Linked DNA regions of Homo sapiens: regions 1, 3 and 4 are each linked to region 2. The links are contacts of gene promoters, found by promoter capture Hi-C in blood cells and fetal thymus (Javierre and others, 2016). All regions are on one chromosome and are shown on one strand. The core of a region is centred on a gene start or on the middle of the fragment in contact, and the rest is flanking DNA. Distances in the headings are between cores, read along the strand shown.

Region 1 (4,929 bases), core at 860-3,359, 3.0 Mb after region 2:
TAAAGAACTCCAAGGAACTGAGGAAGCCACTCTGTTCTGTACATCTACACTTGCCTTCTCATTCTTCAATTTCCCTGATCAACTCATGCTCTGATATAAACTTCAAAAAAATTATACCTCTATCCTAGGTTTCCTTCCCCCAAACCTCACCCACCCTATTGCTCACTTCTCTGCGAAAACAAAATAAAGCACAGCAACAAATCAAGGGCATCAAAAGCAAACAATTTACACCCTTAAGAAAGGGGTGGGCTAATCTTCAGGCTGAACTGGAATAAGCAGTCATTGTTTCAGTGCCCTAATTTTGTTCATTTGACATTTTGTGGCTGTCTTCTGAGCTCTTGGGGTCAGCTAAGTTTGGTTAGGTTTAAAGTACAAAATATATGTGTTAAGGATAATTGAAAACTTAGAACATAGGTAAGAAGCCAAATATCCAAATACACCTTGATCGAAAAAATCATATTGGAACTCAGAAGGAATTCTGCAGATAACACAGTAATGCACACAAGAATATGTCCACAATTGAAACATAAGCTAAAAGGTACTAAAGCCTGATCTGCTAAAAAGTCACTTCAAATAAATACACCTGGAGCAATGCATTGTCTTCATGCATCAGTTTTTTCTTCTGCAAATAGCCTTTCCTATGGCCACAGGTTTTCTTTGAGGAATAATGACAATTGTGATTATAAAAACTTTGAAAAAATGGAATATTAAAGCAAATAATAATATTGATTAATAAATTCCATAGATCTACTCTCCCTTTAGGCTGTTCCCGATTACCAATATTAATATTTTTCTCAAATATTTGCCCTTAAAATCTCTTTTCCATCCTTTAGTTGTGACTTTTACATTATTTTCATAATCTATAAAAGCAGTCATAAAAAAGGGTCAGAATTTTTTTCAGTGATCCCTGAACTTGCTGCTTACTCGAACCTCTGTGCCTTCCTTGCTCATACTATTGTCCCAGTTCAGCATCAATACTATCTTAGGCCCCAGTAAACCCGAAAGAACGTTTCCTTCATGAGATTTATTTACTTTTTTTTTTTTTTTTTTTTTTTGGGACGGAGTCTCGCTCTGTCGCCAAGGCTGGAGCGCAGTAGCACAATCTCGGCTCACTGCAACCTCCACCTCCCGGGTTCAAGTGATTCTCCTGCCGCAGCCTCCTGAATAGCTGGGATTACAGGTTTGCGACACCATGCCCAGCTAATTTTTGTATTTTTAGTAGAGACGGGGTTTCACCATATTGGCCAGGCTGGTCTCGAACTCCTGACCTTAAGATCCACCCGCCTTGGCCTTCCAAAGTGCTGAGATTACAGGTGTGAGCCACCTAAGAGGCCGCGCCCGGCCTAAGAGATTTATTTTTATGTTTATTAACTTTGTTTACTGTCTGTCCTTCCACACTAGAATGCAAGTTTCAAGAGGGTGAGGATTTCTCTGTTAATCTTCTGTACCTAAAACAGGGCCTGGCATATAGTTAAGTGTTTAATACATATTCATTCAATAAAAGAGAATGGAGAGGAGCACCTAAAAGAATAATTTGAGCCAGATCTCATGAAGAAAAAAAGAATTCTTCTAAAACCACATTTTTATGTTCAGCTAGCATAATATTTAAACCAAAAAGGGATGGCTCAGTTTGGTCTAGATTTGTATAACAAGAACCCCTATAATAGCAATACCTTCATCAGCAATTGCAGTGGCCATGGAATTATCCATTTCTACACCTTGTATTTCTGATATCTCCTCTGGAGTGTCACTGAAATCTCAAAGATTTTTGTCATCTAGTTTTTATCAATATCCCCTATGTTTATGCCCAATTAAAATCAGCACTTTTCTATTCTGCCATTCTAAAGCTTGACTTAACCACAGTGCTTCTGAAGGCTGTCTGCAAGATTTGACTTAGATAATACAACATTGGCCCTCTCTAAATGCCTCTTTTAATATGGTGCTAATTATCTATTGCTGCCTAACAAATGACCCCACAATTTAACAGCTTAAAACAACAAACATTTATTATCTCACAGTTTCTGTGAATCAGTAATCTTGGGATGGCTTAGCTGAGTCCTCAGAAGGCTATAGTCAGCCAACTGGGGGAGGATCCATTTCCAAACTCAGTCCTAGGGTTGCGAGAAGGATTCAACATTCCTTGTGGGCTGCTGGCCCCAGACCTCCCCTCAGTTCTTTACCACAGAAACCTCAGCCTGGGGCAGCTCACAACAGGGCAGCTGGTTTCATCCAAGGGAGAAAGACAGGGAGCATGAGAGAGTAAACAAGACAGATGCCAATCTTTTTTGTAATCTAATCTCAGAAGTAACATCCATCATTTTGCTGTACTCTGTTTCTTGGAAGCAAGTCATCAGATTTAGCCAAAGCTTGGGTGGAGGAAATTACACAAGGGCATGAACACCAAGGGATGGGGATCATTAAAACCCATCTTAGGGCCGGGCACAGTGGCTCACGCCTGTAATCCCAGCACTTTGGGAAGCCAAGGCGGGTGGATCACGAGTTCAGGAGTTTGAGACGAGCCTGGCCAAGATGGTGAAATCCTGTCTCTACTAAAAATACCGAAATTAGCTGGGCGTGGTGGCACGCACCTGTAATCCCAGCTAATTGGGAGGCTGAGGCAGGAGAATCACTTGAACCCGGGAGGTGGAGGTTGCAGTGAGCCGAGATCATGCCACTGCGCTCCAGTCTGGGCGACAGAGTGAGACTCTGTTTCAACAACAACAACAACAAACCATCTTAGAAACTACCTACCACAAATATCTTCATATACTGCTTGCACTCTAAGTTCTCATTTTCAAGGGCTTCGAGTTTAGTTTATAAGATAAAAAGCATGGAAAAATTAAGACCTTATTCCAGTTCTTCCTTTCCACACTGCTGTTTCAACTAATGAATCTTTGATGATCTTGGATGATAAAATTTCATGAATTTACAATAACTTTTGCAAAAGATCTTTGGCTTAAGTGTTTCAGGCCTCTGTAGTTAAAGAACTATTGACTTTTAGAACAAACACAATCAGTGTAGTTAGTTCATTGTTGGATCTGAGGATCTATTTCAAGAACACCTATTTTTTTTCTAAGTGCTAAGGCTACTGCTCTGCTTGTTTCTGGAGTTAATTTTGATTGATCTTGGCTAGAATTTTCTCTCAAGATTCAGCTTCCTCCTTTATTTCTACTTGGAATGATTTCTACCAAGAATATCCTGAGGAACACTAGTTATATAAGACGTGCCTCTATTTCTGTGGTAAAATAAGTCTAGGAAACACTGTATATTGTATGAGTCACAATATATATTAGCATAGTAAAGATCCTAAAAGTCCAGCAGTAAAGAAACCTGTTTACTCTCAACTTAGAATTTCCCAAATGTATATAACCTATAAATCCTTTTACATGTAATGCTTATTAACATTCTACGGAAGTAGAGTCCTGCTGAATATTTTTAGGGGAAATAATGCCTTGGAACAACAACAACAAAAATCTACTTCTAGCTGGGCACAGTGGCTCACACCTGTAATCCCAGCACTTTGGGAGGCTGAGACAGGCAGATCACTTGAGGTCAGGAGTTTGAGACCAGCCTGGCCAACATGGTGAACCACCCCCGCCATCTCTACCAAAAATATAACAATTAGCTGGGTGTGGTGGTGCACTCCTATAATCCCAGCTACTCGGGAGGCTGAGGCAGGAGAATCTCTTGAACCTGAGAGGCGGAGGTTGTGGTGAGCCCAGATGGTGCCACTGCACTCCAGCCTGGGCGACAGAGTGAGACTCCATCTCAAAAAAAATAAGGAAGAAGAAAAAGAAAAGAAAACAATCTACTTCTGGCACTAGCAATCAGGTGAGTATTGATACAATGGTGAAAAGACAGATACTGGATCCCTCTTGTAAACAACCAGTTCTTTAGAAAACTTCTTGGGAAATATCTTCAAAACTATAAAACGGAAACTGTCAGAAGATATAATACATTAAGTACTAATTCTAAATGATGTAAACAGTTGAACATTCATGGTATTGCTTCCATTTTAAGAAACTTCAAATATGCTGTAATTGTTATAGGTAACAAAAATTTACCATCACATGAACAATCAGTTTCACATTTAGTCCAGTAATAAGTACTGCTATGTATGGTTCTGGAGTTCATTTCAATCAATCTCGAATAGAATTTTGTCTTAAGATTTCCTTTCCTCCTGCAGAATATTTGTTCTAAGTCCTTAAATGCAAACATAGCACTGCATGGATTAAAGATGAACACAAATGTGCTACTCCTCTCTTCAAAAGGTGGAGTCTGTTTGCCTTCCCCTTAAATCTAACCTGGCCTTGTGACTTGCTTTGACCAATTAGAAATGCAGCAAAAGTGCAATTGCTCTAGTCTGGACCCTAAATTTGCTTTTGCTCTCCCAAAAGCCAGCCACCATGCTGCAAAGAAACTTGAGCCAGACTATGGAATGATGAGAGGCCACATGGAGAGGGTGACAAAGACTCCGTCCTTGACCAAACTTGAGTCAGGCCCCTCTGATTCCTCTTTTTGACTAGGCCCCAACCTTGCCTCGTCCTTGGCCTGCTTAGTTCCGTTTTAGCAAGAATCTTGCTGGGTCAATTTCATAAAAATCCCCAACTTTCCGTATGAGATCAGCCTGGCCTGCCTTCAGCAAGAATCCTCTCAAGTCAGTTTGGCCACAATCCCCCTAACCTTGATGTTTCCTCTTAGTAACTGTCTATCCACTGACTCCCACCCCTGCTCCTTGGCTACAAATCCCCACTTTTCCTTGTTGTATTTGGAGTTGAGCCCAATCTCTCTCTCCTAATACAAAACTCCATGGTAGTAGTTCCCCTGAAAAGTTTGCATTACCATCTGTAACAAATGTCATGAATAACATTTTTCTTTAATAAAAGATCATGGACATGTGGAAGATGAGAAAGGATACTTGTGTTCCAG
Region 2 (5,018 bases), core at 1,067-3,566:
ACAGATAAATGGGCAAAAGCAATAAACAAGTATTTCAAAACCGAATCACAAATGGTTAATTAACATATGAAAAGATGCTAAACCTCATTAAGACTCAGAGAATTGCAGATTTCGCTCCAATGAGACACCACCATTTCACACCCACCAGATTGTCAAAAATTAAAAAGTTTAATAACATCAAATGTGATAGGCATATTAGTGTTCATTTTATTATTCCTTAAACTGTCTGCACATTACATATGCTTTTATATGTACATGTTTCATAACTAAAATTGTTAAGTGTCACCTGAGCAATAAAAATATTTCTTCATAAGCCTGATGAGAGCAGTTTCAGTGAAATACTGGGCATGAAAACCAGACTGCATGGGCTGAAAGGCTCTACAAGATAAAGGCGTAAAGCTAACTTATGGACAACTATTTCAAACTTACCTATAAGGCTGGAAAAGCAGAGCTGCAACTTTAGGGAATGATATGGTGAGAGTTTATGTTATATTTTTAAATAAAGGAAACTGGATTAGGTTTAGAAAAATCTAGAGGGAAAGGACGACAGTGAGTAAGGTGTCCCTGGTTTGTCACAAAGATACATGATACAGGGATCGGGAACAGGAATTTCCTTTAGGGATGAGAGATTCTTTGACCTTATCCCATCACTCCCAAGCCCCATCCACTCCAGTCACAATAGTCTACTTACTCCTCCTTCCAGCAAGCCTCTACTTCGGGACTTTTATAACCTCTATGGAGAATACTCTTTCCCAGATGGTGCAAGGTATGCCTTTCACTCTTTTATTTCCCCAAATGTCAATTCAGTGAAGTGTTCCTGACCACTATGAAACTGAAATCCCATCTGCACTCCCTGCCACCACTACTCCTGATACTCTTATTCCTTTTCCTTGCTCTATTTGTCTTCATAAGCTTTTAATACTCTATGTATGATAGACTCTATATTGTTGAAACTCTCTACCTCCATTGTATGTAAGCTCCAAAAATGCAGCAAATGTAGTCACAGCGCCTACTAATGCTTGATACAAAGGTAGCTCAATGAACACATACTGAATGAATATGGACCCTGCTTGAGGAAACTGAAGAACAAGTATAATAAAAATGATGCTGTAAAATTTGAACAAAATGAAGTAATGCACAGAGAATAATCAATTTGCTGCCCACAGAAGTGGTGACATTTGGGTTAGATCTTGAATCATGAGTTTGCCAAGTGCAAGAAAAAGGTGCACATTCCAAGAGAGTGGAAGATGGTAGGTCTGAAAAGGCCTTGCACATTTGAGAAACAGGGTACATTTGGAGTATGGCAGAGATAACAGTGACCAGATTTTAGCTAACCTTACAATATACACAACAATGGACGCATTATATCCAACTTCTCAACTCTAAATATCCTTTTCAGAATTATAATTGTCCAGTTACTTGTTTTATTTGCAGTAAAGTTAAGAGTACAGAATACAAAATAAAGTTAACACAGAATTACTGGCACTCCCTTTACTCACTACAAGTTTGAGCAGAGTTAACCTATATTTTTTTTAATCAAACTGTAAATTCAACGTATAACACTCAAAGTGAAAATACTGCTTTCAAAGGTCTCAACAGCGGGTATTATTCAAAGAAGTCAAAACTAAAAATTCTGCATGGTAGGAGAGAGCAGCTGGGTGGGGAAAGGTCAAATTCAACTGCTTATTTAGTAGCAGATACTCCCCATTTAACCAAATGAGTTTCTGATTGGGCTTGCATGCTGTCATAAATAATATTCACTTATTACTATGTTTTCAACTAGTCTATCGTCCTTTTATCCACATCACTCCTTCTTTCGGACACTCACCTTCGTTTTAAACCTAACTCAATTTATTTTCAGGATTCCTATTTGAGACAAGAAGCTCTTGTGTGTACACACACAGAGAAAACCTTGGAAGATTATATTCCACAGTTCAAGAGCCTGTGTAGTCAGTACTGGAGCATTTAAGCACAAGATAGGAGAAGCAGTGGACACCATGGTGTTTTGGGATTCCTACTGCCAGGGGGTGGGAACCCAGGGAGTTCCCTGGGTAGGCTCGAGGTCAAAGCTCAGGTTTAAAGCGAGGGGGGCGGGGCATGCCCCAAGAACCTCAGGGAGGTGTGTGGGCCCTAAAATGCAACTGGGAAAGAAAGGGCGCGGCCACTCGGAAAGACTCACAGTAATAAGCCACCACAGGGTCTCGCTTGTCATGCTCCTGAGCCGTCCTCAGATGATGCTGTATGCTCTTGAACTGTGCGGGGAGCGGGGGCAGCGGTGCAAGCGCGGCCATCTCTACTCCGAACTCACCACTTCCTACTCGCGCTCCACCGGCACTTCCGCTTCCGTCTGGGCGGTAGCGCGCACGAGCGTTCAGAGCAAATGCTGCCCACTCTTCCGTTGCTCAGCGACGTCAAGTCAACTACGGATCCCCAGCTGGGACAACCTCAGGGTGCTTGGCTCTCGGCGGTTAGAACCCACAGAAGACCCGAGCATTTTGGCGCTTATGCCGCGCATGGCGCTAGCGCTCTCTGCTGGTAGGAGGAAGGGTTTTTGTTTTGTTTTGCTTTTTTGTTTGGTTTGTTGTTTGTGGCAAAAGGAAGGATAGAAAAGGAAAAACAAGAAAATAATGTATGTTGACTGGGAGAAAGTATAAAGGCGAGAATTGCCTTTGGCGTCATTCAGGAATTACCACTTCCAGTTAATATGCCACATTAATATTCCATATAGCAGTGTCCTTTAGAAGCCTTTTTGATTTTAGAAACTTTAATTTCAATACTTGCATGAGAGAGAAATAATGTGTTTAAATTGTAAATTAAATTTTTCTATGTTGACATACTGGATAAAATAATCAGATTTCGCGCCAAATTAAGCTAAACATATGAAGCTTAAAGAAGATTGAACTTTTGTTCTCAGCTGGCTAGTACGTATTTTAGTGAATGAATAATCTGTAGATCACCTTTTTTTTTTCTGGAGAGTGATTAACAATTTGTAAAGTATTTTCATATTTATTATCTTGTCTTAATGTAAGATAGGGTGTTTGGGACGTTTTCAACGCTGGTAACTCTTAACCATTGTACAGTAGGCATCACTTTTCCTTCTACCCTCAATGACTTCAATTCTCTTCCTCTCCTCTCCATCCCTTACTTATATCTTTCAGGACTGTACACTTTATTTACTTCCTCCAATAACCTTCTTTATTTTATCTCAGTCCTCAGTTTTGACAATTCATCTTAAAACTAGTTTTCACTGAAATCACACTATCCCCAAGAGCCAAAATCTCCAGCTCGGAAATTCCCCTCTGCCTACTATTTTCTGATCACTCTCTCACCCCCAGAAGAAACCGCTCCATGTCCTCATATTATCCCACTCCACATACGTTGCCTAGACCTATTTGCAAAGTCCATCATCTTATTCTGGGTCGGGCTTTTTTACTCAGCCTGAAACTCAGTTCTGTCTTCTTCCCCAATCTCAGCGGCATATTTCCTACCACTGGAGAATGTATGGTTTCTTTCTCTTTCTCTTACTCCCACTATTTGGACTTTCCAGTCAAAAGTTGCTAGATTGGTAGAGAAATCAATGAAGAAAAGCAGAGTTGGATAACCATAACTGTTTTCTTTCTATACTCACAACTTTTCATTTATTTGTTTCCTATTACTTCTTGATTCTCAACCGCAGCTGCCCTTAAAGATCAACTTTAAAGCCCACTCCAGGCATTCTCACTTAATTGTTCTAGGTGGGATCCTAAATGTCAGTATCTTTAAAAGGTCCTCATGTAATTTTAATGTTACGTCTAGGGTTAAGGACCAGTGCTGTAGTCCACAGATGGTGTTTCAAACTTCTCTCGCTCTATTCAAGCTAGGCACTCAGCCCCAATTTCCTTGGTCTACAACAGCATTTCCTGCTATTGAGATTAAGGCCACCACCAGATATGAATTATTTTGCCTTGCCTCTACCACAACTTAAAGTAATAATAACTAGCTAGCAGCATTTGCTGAGCATCAACTATGTATCATGCATGTTTCTAGGGTCTTTATATTAATTTATTTAATTTGCACCACAACCCTATGAGGAACATATCATTATTATTTTACAGATGAGAAAAATAAGACACATAGAATCTAGATAACTTGCACTAGGTCACAGCCAGGAAGGATGAGTATTCCACATTAAAATCTAGGTATTTTGGTTTCAGAGCCTGTGCACCTAGCCATTACTACTTGACTATGATGTCTTTCTAGATCTTATGTTTTATCTTTTCTCTATTCCATCATCTTATGTCTGAGAAACAAATGTTCCTCTTCCTGGTAGAAGGCTGCACCCTCCTGTTACTCTCCTGATCTCCCCCTTCAGAAGTGAATTTTGCCACTCTTTCTCATTTGCATACATTCATGTGTACTCTTATTTGCATACCCTCATGAGCAGGACTGAGGGAAAAATAAGAAAGTGAAATGGTTGGAGTTGGATTTTACTCTCTGATCTGCCAACACATGCTCTTTTCTTTTCTTTCTTTTCTCCTTCCTTCCTTCTTTTTTTCTTTCTTTTTTTTTTTTTTTTTTTAGACAGGTTCTCACTCTGTCACCTAAGCTGGAGTGCAGCACACTATCAGAGCTCGCTGCAGTCTTGGACTCCTGGGCTCAAGGATCTTCTTGCCTCAGCCTCCTGAGTAACTGGGACCACAGGCACATAACACTATGGCTAATTATTATTATTTTGTTGCCTAGGCAGGTCTTGAACTCTTAGTCTCAAGTGATACTCCTGCCTCGGCCTCCCAAAGTGCTGAGATTACAGACAAGAGCCTCATGCTCTCTTCTTTCTAAATATGCTAACCCTTTCATGAGATGATAATTGATTTGATGGAGAACAGTACAGAGACAGTGTTAGTGTAACACACATTGAAATTATGCTATAAAACAAATATTAATGACTGTGAGGTTGCTTTTTCTTGTTTTACTATGATATTTTACTAGAAAGACCTACATTCTTCTTCTCCATTCATCTCAGACCAGTTTCTGAAGGA
Region 3 (4,607 bases), core at 579-3,078, 3.4 Mb after region 2:
AGAATGCAAAAAGTAAAAACTTTTACAAGGTTAAATATACCATAAACAAAGTGCACAGACACAACAAATTTGGTAGACAAAAATAAATACATAATAGAGGTCAGAGGGTTAGTATCTAAAACACAAAGGGCTCTTTACAAGTGACAACAACAAAAGGATAAATAACCAAGTAGAAAACTGACAAAAGGTCCTGAAAAGGACCTATCAAACAATCTACCAAACACACACGGATCTTCAAACTCAATTGTAATAAAAGACATCTCACTTTACACCAAGAGACTGGCAAAAATTAAAAGACGAATAATACCTACTGCTTGGCGGGAATTCAAGGAAAAGCATTTTTTCATAAATTATTTATGGAACCTAGAAGTGCGGTATTGTTCTTTTTGCAAAGCAATCTGCATACTTCTATTAAAGTTAAAATTACATATATGCTTTGACCCAGCAATCCCACTCATGAGAATCAATCCCAAAAGAATAGAGGCACCAGCCTAAAGATCTGTGTAAAAAGATGTTGACTATGCCATTGTGTTTGGTGGCTCAAAATGAGAAACAAAGTAATGCCTCTCAATAGGGACATAGTTGAATAAACTAGAGTATATTCACAACTTGGAATATTATGTTGCCATTAAAAAAGAATGAACTAGAGCAATCCTAGGTGCATTAGAGAGATTTCCATCAGATATTCTTTAGTGCAGGAAAGCAAGACACAGAATATCTTGTATACCATTTGTATTAAATAATGAAAATAAAAATATGAAAGGATATACACCTGGACTGTTAACAAATGGCTGGGATGAGGGGAAGTGGAAGTAGCAGAAGGGATAAGAGGGAATGGGGAAGTTAAGTAACAAAAACATTGGGGAGGGAAAGAATACTTTAAAAAATCAATATGTATGTGGACATTTATGCATTTGTATAAGATTATGCATCTTCTAAAAAACTGGGGAAGTTAAAATTTTTTAAAAAGATTATGCATATTATTGAAATTGCTTTTTAAAATATTGAGAAATAGGCCAGGCGCGGTGGCTCACGCCTGCGATCCCAGCACCTTGGGAGGCCGAGGCGGGCAGATCACAAGGTCAGGAGATGGAGACCCATCCTGGCTAACACGGTGAAACTCCGTCTCTAGTAAAAATACAAAAAATTAGCTGGCCGTGGCACATGGCTGTAGTCTCAGCTACTGGGGAGGTTGAGGCAGGAGAATCACTTGAACCCGAGAGGTGGAGGTTGCAGTGAGCCGAGATCGTGCCATGGAACTCTAGCCTGGGCGACAGAGCCAGACTCTGTCTCAAAAAAAAAAAAAAAAAAAATTGGGAAATAATCTTATCATTAGAAAAAGCTTACAAATAAGTTCCAGACTGCACATGAAAAATCTGACTATCTTTTGTGAACTCTGTGACTACGAAAAAATACCTATTCAGAATTTTTAATGGGACAATCAGTTAACTATTCTTATATCCTCATGAAAAAACAAGAAAACTGGATTCTTTTAATTCCTAACTTTAAATCAGGAATCCCAGGCAAGAAACAAGTTTAAGCTTAAGAGGGTAAGGGAAAATGATCTTGATACTTTCAAAACGAAGACACTAAGTCTAAAATATTTTAACTGACCAAGACTGTCCCTCTTATTTGTTAAACTTGCAAGATACTTATTCCATAATGGCAATCCTACTTCAACATTTCAACTAACCCTCCCTCTTAAAAAAAAACTTTTTCCCAGAAGTTTTAGAAGGCAAATTATATTCTAAGACAAAATCTAGGATGATTGCCTTTATGCCTGTGGGCTCTTTTTTTCTTAAAAGAAACTGGCACTTTGAAAAGAAGAGTAAAATACACACAGAAAACAGGATGCAAACATCTTAGAGAAAAAAATAATACAGAAACATCTATTGCTTACCAAATGCTTGAAGTTTTCCAGAGTGGAAATCATTCAAAAGACTGAGCAGCCCTCTCTCCATCTCCTGAACATCTGAGACATCAGTGAGGAAGGAGTGCTGGATCGGAGTTGACTGAGCGCCTTTGCCCTCTCCACCCTGAGGTTTGGTCTTTTCTTTCATCACTCTGTAAAGACGATGAAATTTAGGCTTTTTAGGCTATTCTAGATTAAGCTTTTGCTTAATTTTTTAGTGAAGTAAATGGAATTTCCCTTAAAAGCAAGAAATCAAATAGAGTCAATACTAAACAAAACCAGAAACTCCAAGCCAGAAACCAAAAGAAAAAAAAGGTTGTGAAAAACCTCAAACAAATGTATAAAATATAACTACAAAGGCATATAAAAAGTTTGATTAATACATTTATATAATATGCTAATTCTTTGGACTGCAGAAAAGAAAACTTGTAAGTCTGTATTATCCTATGCTTTACATTTCATTTCTCAGTAAAACATATTACACCTTTCCCTTCTAAACTTTATTTGTTCCTTGAACTCTCAGTAGTTCTACATATGGTTTTGGAGTCCCTACTCTGTAGCCAACATTATCCACAAATGCCCCGTCTAAAGAGAAGGGAAGATATTTAAATTCATAATCACCATGTAATGGAATACTAAAAACTTGTTATCATCCTTGACTCCTCTAACTTCCTAAGGCTCCTACATGCAGTCATGAAGTCCTATCAATTATACCCACAAAATATCTAATCTCTCCAGTTCTCTTTCTCCCATGCCACCATCCCATCTCTTAACCAAATAGCTTCCCAACCAGTCTCCCTATCTCTGTGATCCCTGATCTCCCTTCTCTCCCCACCGGGCAGCCAAGTCCATTTCCAAAAAGTAAAATCAGATCATACAATTTGCTTAATTAAAAATGCTTCAGTAGGCCGGGCACAGTGGCTCGTGCCTATAATTCCAACACTTTGGGAGGCCCAGGCAGGAGGATCACCTGAGATCAAGAGTTCAAGACCAACCTGGCCAACATGGCAAAACCCTGTCTCTACTAAAAATACAAAAATTAGCCTGGTGTGGTGGTGCACACCTGTAGTCCCAGCTACTTGGGAGGCTGAGGCAGGAGAATCCTTTGAACCCAGGAGGTGGAGGTTGCAGTGAGTTGAGATTGTACCACTGCACTCCAGCCTGGGTGACAGAGCGAGACTCCGTGTCAAAAAAAAAAAAAAAAGCTTTAGTAGCTTTGCATTGCCTGCTGAATATAATCTAATATCCCTAAGAAACCCTATCCTCATCTATGCTCTAGCCACTGAATCTCTTTCGTTTCCTAGAAATCCATTATCTTATCTTCTTACGTGCTAATCCTCTGCCTACATTAGCATCCTTCCACTTACTGCCATCTTTGGCATGCTACCTCCCACACATCTTCAAGTCTCAGTTTAAATGCTATTTCCTCAGGAAGGCCTTTTTGGAACCCCTAGCCTAAACTAGTCCTTATTACACATGTCTGGCATATACCAGGCTCTCAAATAGTTGAGTGATGATGTTATGCGCACTGCGATATAGGAAGAGAGAGAAGCAGTTCGTTCAGCGTGGGACCAACCAGAGAAGGCTTCCTAAAAGTGATAAGTGAGCAAAGACTTAAAGAACAAGTAGGGGCTAAATTGGCAAAATGGGAGAAAGAGTAATTTATCTTTATAACCCAATGCACACTACAAATCCCGACACGGAAGTATATTCAGTACTCAATTTTAACATAATGTTGAATGAAGACATCTTCAACACAGCTGTCCTCACCACAATAAGATAAATAGGGTATATATATGCCCAGGGAAAGTAGGTGAGGGGGGGATACAAGAAAGAGACTATAATATGAAAGAAGTTTAGAATACATACATTGTTGACAGTAGGTCAATAACAGTTCTTCCCAAAGCAAGGGCTGCATTTTATGTATTACATACATTATGTAATACCTTGTTACTCAAAGTGCTGCCCATGACCCATAGAATCAATCTCACTTGTGAGCTTCTTAGAAATGCTCATCTGAAGCCCCCCATCCCACACTGCTGTGGAATTTGTATTCTAAAAAAATCCCCGAGAGATCCATATTCACATTTAAAATCTGAGATAAACTATTACAGAGTATAAGGTTTCAGCATGACAAATGTATTTTTTTCCTCTCAAATTTGGAAGTTTTCTCCAAGTAAACTTTCACATCAGTTCATCATTTAATAACCCTCTCAGAAAACAAACACAAAAGATAAAACAAAAACCTGTTTATTCCTGCTTCAATGTTATGTCACACTCTCACTTTATGTTAACATAATTCAACAATAAAGCAAGCACACAGTGAAATAATACTATGTGCAAAGCCCCACTGTAAGTTCTGTCAGGCACACAATGATGATCCAGAGAGTCCTGGCCCTCAGAAGCCTACATCTACAAGAGGGTATGGAAATAAAACCACCAATAAAAATGACAATGATACAAATAAACTGCTTTTAAAAATATAGAGAAAGGAGTGATTACTTTTAAAATCTCTTCGTTTTCTTTTTCCACCAACTGTAAACTTATTCAAAATCTGACCCTAATTAAACTCTTCCATGACAAAAACCCCATTCTGATAATTTATTCGAAGGAAATCCTCAAAACTGCTGTTTATCATTTGGTACTCATTGGAATACTTCTTCCAAATCTTCTCTTGTCTTTGGTTATGTCCCTT
Region 4 (4,870 bases), core at 1,246-3,745, 3.1 Mb after region 2:
AATGCAGACATAGTAAGGATCTGTGAGGGATGATGAGGAAATTAGCCTGTACTGGACAGAGGGAGAATGAAAATGTCCAAAGAAATTAAGGAACTTTCCAATTCTCTGATTCTCTGATTCCCGACCCCGGAAAGATGTTATCTCTTTAACACCCTTCTTCGCTCCTTCCTCCCACCTCCAGCAACATACTTCAGACTTAGCTCTCATTGAATAATGAGCATCAAAGGGGAAATTCATCTATTATATATAGTACGCATACCTGCATTATAGTAAGCAGATGTACGTTCATCCAATTTTAAGCATGAAAGGCAACCAGCGTTTCTTTATAATTAATTACACATCAGGCTCCTTATCTACGTTAATTCATGTAGTTCTAAGAACCTTGCAAGGCATTTATTTACCTCTATTTTAAGGATAACGAAACAGGGGTTAATGCCCCACAATTAAATGCTGTCTCTACCACATCGTGGTGGCTGTTTCCCCGCTTCCTCTTCCTCTTTTGCCATTATGCAAATACACTAAATATAATAGTGAGTGGTATTTGTATGAAACGTGACATGCTGAGCTCTTACCAAGGCAGAACACTTACAAAGCAAGAAAGGCTCCCTGCCCAGACCACCATAAATAGGAAAATAACAGGTTTAAAAACAATTGCTAGCATACATAATTTGACGTTTTATTTATTTATTATTTAGGAAGGAGAGGGACAAAGGGGGAAAAATACCTATTGTGACACAATCCTTTAAAGACCCATGGCCTTTTATAATAAGGACAGAATCCCAGGACTGCAGAGAGCAAGATGAAGAACAATGAAGGGGGCGGAGGGTGAAGAGAGGTTGATGGGTATAAACACAGAAGAAATAAGACCTGGTGTTGCATTGATCAGTGGGGTGACTATAGTTCACATTAATGGATTGTACACTTCCAAATGGCTAAAAGCAAGTTAAGTTGAATGTTCCTAGCATAAAGAAGAGATAAATATTTAGGGTGATGGATATACCAATTACCCTGATTTGGTTATACGAATGTAACACATTCTCACGAGTACCGTGAAACTATGTCTAAGAAAAAAAAAAAGAAAAGAACAATGAGGAGAGGTGAGAAGCAGAGCAAGTCTAAAGGGAAGAGCTTAATGGTGAGCGGCTGGACCAGAAGACAGGAAAAGGCTCCAGGGAAGGCGAGGTAGATGACGGCCAGGCACTCTAATTGTCGCAGAATCGATTTCGGCTTTGTGCGTGGGAAACACAAAGGAAGCGGAAAGTCGGAGGACTGGGCAGAACCCGAAACTCACCACCAATACACACTTTAGAATGTATTTAAGGACCCTCAGGGCATTGTTATTTTTCAAAAGTTTGGAGGCAATGCATGGAGATTTTCTAATATCCAAGGAAATAAAGCCTACTGGAATAGGTATGTCCGGAATCAGGAACCAACTTTACACACTCGGGCTGGGCACGTTTTCCCAGCCCTTCTTCGCAATCGCGGACAAGCAGCTGGTGCGGGTCAAAGGGTGACTGGGCTCCTTACTCCCTCCGGTCTGGGGCGCGCTCACTCCATATTTGGCCATTCTGCTACCAGCTTGGGGTTCTGCCTGGTAGAGGTCCCCTAACCCCGTGCCCTGCAGCCCATCATCACACGGTCACCGCCGGCACCAGTGCAGGGCTGGGGAGCGCGGGGCTGGGCCCCCCGTGGCGGGGCGGCACCGCTGGCGCCCGGGAAGGGCCGCGTCCCGGAAGTCTTTGTCTCCGCAGCTCCCGGCCCGGCGCCGCGGGTCTGCCTCCCCCGTGGCCCGGGCGCCCCGAAGCGCCGCGAGAGCGAGCACCCAACCCGGGCGACGAAAACGGACCCTGCCCCGGGCTCCACGAGCCCCTGGTGTCCCCTCACGACTCTGCACCCCCTGATCTGGAGCGCACAGAGCCGCACCCACCTCCGGCGCTGCAGAGTCCACTGCCCTGAGGCCACCACGTTCCTCGGGGCAGCCTCTCCTCTCGCCCCCAGCCCTTCCCCACCCAGCTCTGCAGAACTGGCTCCTGAACCACCGCCAAGTGCAAAGCCGACACGTCGCACCGCGGTAAAAATCGTTCCATTTCTGCCGGCTTCCCAGTCCGCCCCCGGCCGGCGAAACGTCACGTGAGCCGAGTGCGGAAGTCGACCCGAGAGGTGGGGGCGTGGGCGGCGCGCGCCCCACGGGACCCCAACCCGCGAGGTCTCGGCCCAGCCGGTCGCAGCTTCCGCGCGCCCTGAGCCCCCTCCCGGCCCCCTCCTGACCCGACTCTCACCGCAGCCCGCGGTGCCCGGCGGCGCACCACGGACACCCAGTCCATCCCTGCTACCTAAGCCACATCTGCCCGGGCGCTCACGCACCTCTCTGCGCGGTTTTCCTTCCCGCCGGAGAACTGGCGCCGCGTGGGTCTGGACCCGGTTACCTTCTTCAGTGCACTGGGGAGGGTGAGGCCAAGGAAGGAAGTGGCTGAGGCAAAGAGAAAGACGGCTGTGGAGGAGGAGGAGCAGGGTAGGGGGAAAAGTAAGTGTTTCTGCGCTCAAGAAAGGGGCCGCCCACACTCCCAGGGACAAGCCTATGAGGAGGAAACTCAGGGGAGGAGACGTCCAAGAAAGGGGCTGACTGCAGACAGGTGAAGCGCCCTGGGCTCCTAGGAAAACGGGCCCAGAGCCTGGATTACCTCACTTTTCCACCGTGCTACTCAGAGCCAAGGATCCCAGGATCTGCATCTGATCCTGGGCGTCGATTTCCTGATGGATTTCTCTCCCAACGTAAGAAACAAAGCGCCCTCAAATTGCTGAAGGCTGCTAGAAAGAACGTGGCATTCATGGGTTCCGGATGCCGGGGGCCTCCAGAAAACTACGACTCATGACTTAAAAATGGCTTAATTCGCAAAACAAAATGCAATCTTGAAAGCCAATTTGTCAGACTGCAAAGAAATTTTACTTGGACATAGATAGTTGTTGACCCTGGGTCAGTATCGGTTTCTTCCCTTGTTCATTCATTATTTCATACATTTAACTTCATAATTCAATTTATTCATGCTCCCTTTGTTTTAGTCACTGTTATTTTAATATATGCGTGTGTGAGAGAGAGATGCTTACCGTACCCAGAGAGTCCTTTTGGAAAGGAAACAGTTACCCAAACTATTTCTAGAGCAGGGGTTGCACAAATAACTACAAAAAACGTTCCTTACCCCCTCCCCACCCCCAGCCCAGCTAATTTAAATTAAGAGTGATCGCGTGACCCAAGAGCGCACAATCCGTGATGTAGTCATCATCCTGTGAGGTGACCTGGAGCAAACAGTTCTCATCAAACACGGACTCTGATAGTTAGTAAGCCAATCAGACACTCCCTTGGAAATGGAAAGTGGAGAATGCAGAGACGGAGCTGTCTGATGTAAGAGAAAGGTTGGAGCTAAGAGAGGGTAAGGCAGAAGGGGCCAAAATGGGCTTCGGATGCAAAACATTTGAGTAAGCAGAAACCAGGAGAATGTAGCAGCAGGTTGGGTGGAGGCACAAGTGGTAGAAGCCAGTCAAAGACAAGCTGAGACCAAGTGATGGAAGGAGAGCAACAAAGACCTGCTTCCCAGGGGCATGTGAGTGTTCAGTTCCCTGGGGCTGCACTGGATCCATCCACTTCCCACGCTTCATTCTAGTCTTTACGGTGAATACCTGTCTCCTGGGTGTGACTGAAGGAGTCTCTGTTCTGTAATCTTCAACAAAGGTCTGATTCTTCTAAGTGTCTCATGGCAGATAAAGTTTAAGGTGACTCCAAGATCTTTTCAGACCTATTTTTTTCTTTTACTTGTTTTATATTGTTACCAAAATGATTGAGGCCTATTTTTTTCTCACCAAAAGAAAGGTGAGAAGTTATAGTTTATATCTTTCACAGTCGACATAAGGCAAAAAATATATAATTCAAGAAAAATATATTTAGCAATTATCGAAGCAGGACCTCGCTATTTTGGCCTGTGACAGGGATCACAATTCATCAGTCAGATAATATCCAATGATAGGAATAATGAGTCTGGAGAGCACCGCTTCTGTTATGATTAGGTAATTAGTATTGCCCTAATTGCCAACCAAAGAAAAAGAAATAGGTTACTTTACCTAAAGAAGTAAACATCCTTGTTAATATAAAAATAAACTCACCCAAAAGATACTTTGTTTACACATGTGCTAAACTAAGTATAACACAAGCTTTATGTTAATCTATAAGGAATTACAATTTAAGAAAATTGTTTTGTCGGCTGGGCGCAGTGGCTCATGCCTGTAATCCTAACACTTTGGGAGGCCAAGGTGGACGGATCACCTGAGGTCAGGAGTTCGAGACCAGCCTGCCCAACATGGCAAAACCCCGTCTCTACTAAAAATACAAAAATTAGCCAGGCGTGGTGGCACATGCTTGTAATCCCAGCTACTCTGGAGGCTGAGGCAGAAGAATCACTAGAACCCAGGAGGCGAAGGTTGCAGTGACCCAAGAGCGTGCCACTGCACTCCAGCCTGGGCAACAGAGTGAGGCTGCATCTCAAAAAAAAAAAAAAAAAAAAAAAAGGAAAGAAAAGAAAAGAAAAGAAAAAAGAAAGCTGTTTTGATAAAAGAAATATTAAAAAATCTTAACTAATATTTTTCATATCCAATCCTAGTCCTTCAATTTCCAAATAGACTTTTGTTATCTATTCTTATTCCCTCAGGAATATCATCATGTACAATGTAAGCAATGTGGAAGTTTAACCTAAAAAGAAAATAATACAATTTATCAAATTAAAGAGTATTTAATATATTTTAAATAAATGTGCCAGCCACAAAGTGCCAATACTAAATCGTCCAAAGTAGCCCATGACCTGTCCTTTGTCAAACAGAACTG

Evidence for each region. The method cuts DNA at HindIII sites, captures the fragments that hold promoters and counts their contacts. A CHiCAGO score of 5 or more calls a contact.
Region 1: a fragment that was not itself captured here is called in contact with the fragment with the promoter of VTA1 in region 2 in 1 of 17 cell types (total B cells); the score reaches 6.0 in total B cells.
Region 3: a contact is called between a fragment that was not itself captured here and the fragment with the promoter of VTA1 in region 2, in 3 of 17 cell types (total B cells, total CD8 T cells and non-activated CD4 T cells). The highest score is 12.1, in total B cells.
Region 4: a contact is called between the fragment with the promoter of ABRACL here and the fragment with the promoter of VTA1 in region 2, in 6 of 17 cell types (total B cells, non-activated CD4 T cells, naive CD8 T cells and 3 more). The highest score is 8.3, in total B cells.

What each region holds. Positions count from the first base shown.
Region 1 is chr6:139,126,713-139,131,641 of GRCh38, reverse strand. No RefSeq gene overlaps it. Among named protein-coding and RNA genes, the nearest start is that of HECA, 5.9 kb to the left of the region's middle. RefSeq lists an enhancer at 4,509-4,929. The HindIII fragment of the contact is 519 bases long and covers 1,850-2,368 here.
Region 2 is chr6:142,144,561-142,149,578 of GRCh38, reverse strand. It overlaps VTA1 (vesicle trafficking 1), which reads right to left and starts at 2,316. Exons shown (of 8, transcript NM_016485.5): 1 at 2,180-2,316. The coding sequence starts at 2,291. It overlaps NMBR (neuromedin B receptor), which reads left to right and starts at 2,457. Exons shown (of 4, transcript NM_002511.4): 1 at 2,457-2,535. RefSeq lists enhancers at 1,615-2,135, 2,390-2,529, 2,293-2,587. The HindIII fragment of the contact is 1,973 bases long and covers 915-2,887 here.
Region 3 is chr6:138,777,279-138,781,885 of GRCh38, reverse strand. CCDC28A (coiled-coil domain containing 28A) reads right to left here. Exons shown (of 6, transcript NM_015439.3): 3 at 1,901-2,064. Among named protein-coding and RNA genes, the nearest start is that of CCDC28A, 5.8 kb to the right of the region's middle. RefSeq lists an enhancer at 3,683-3,852. The HindIII fragment of the contact is 570 bases long and covers 1,544-2,113 here.
Region 4 is chr6:139,026,370-139,031,239 of GRCh38, reverse strand. ABRACL (ABRA C-terminal like) reads right to left here and starts at 2,495. Exons shown (of 3, transcript NM_021243.3): 1 at 2,365-2,495. RefSeq lists silencers at 1,302-1,492, 1,542-1,911, 2,172-2,331 and enhancers at 712-1,531, 1,354-1,648. The HindIII fragment of the contact is 5,437 bases long and covers 1-4,205 here.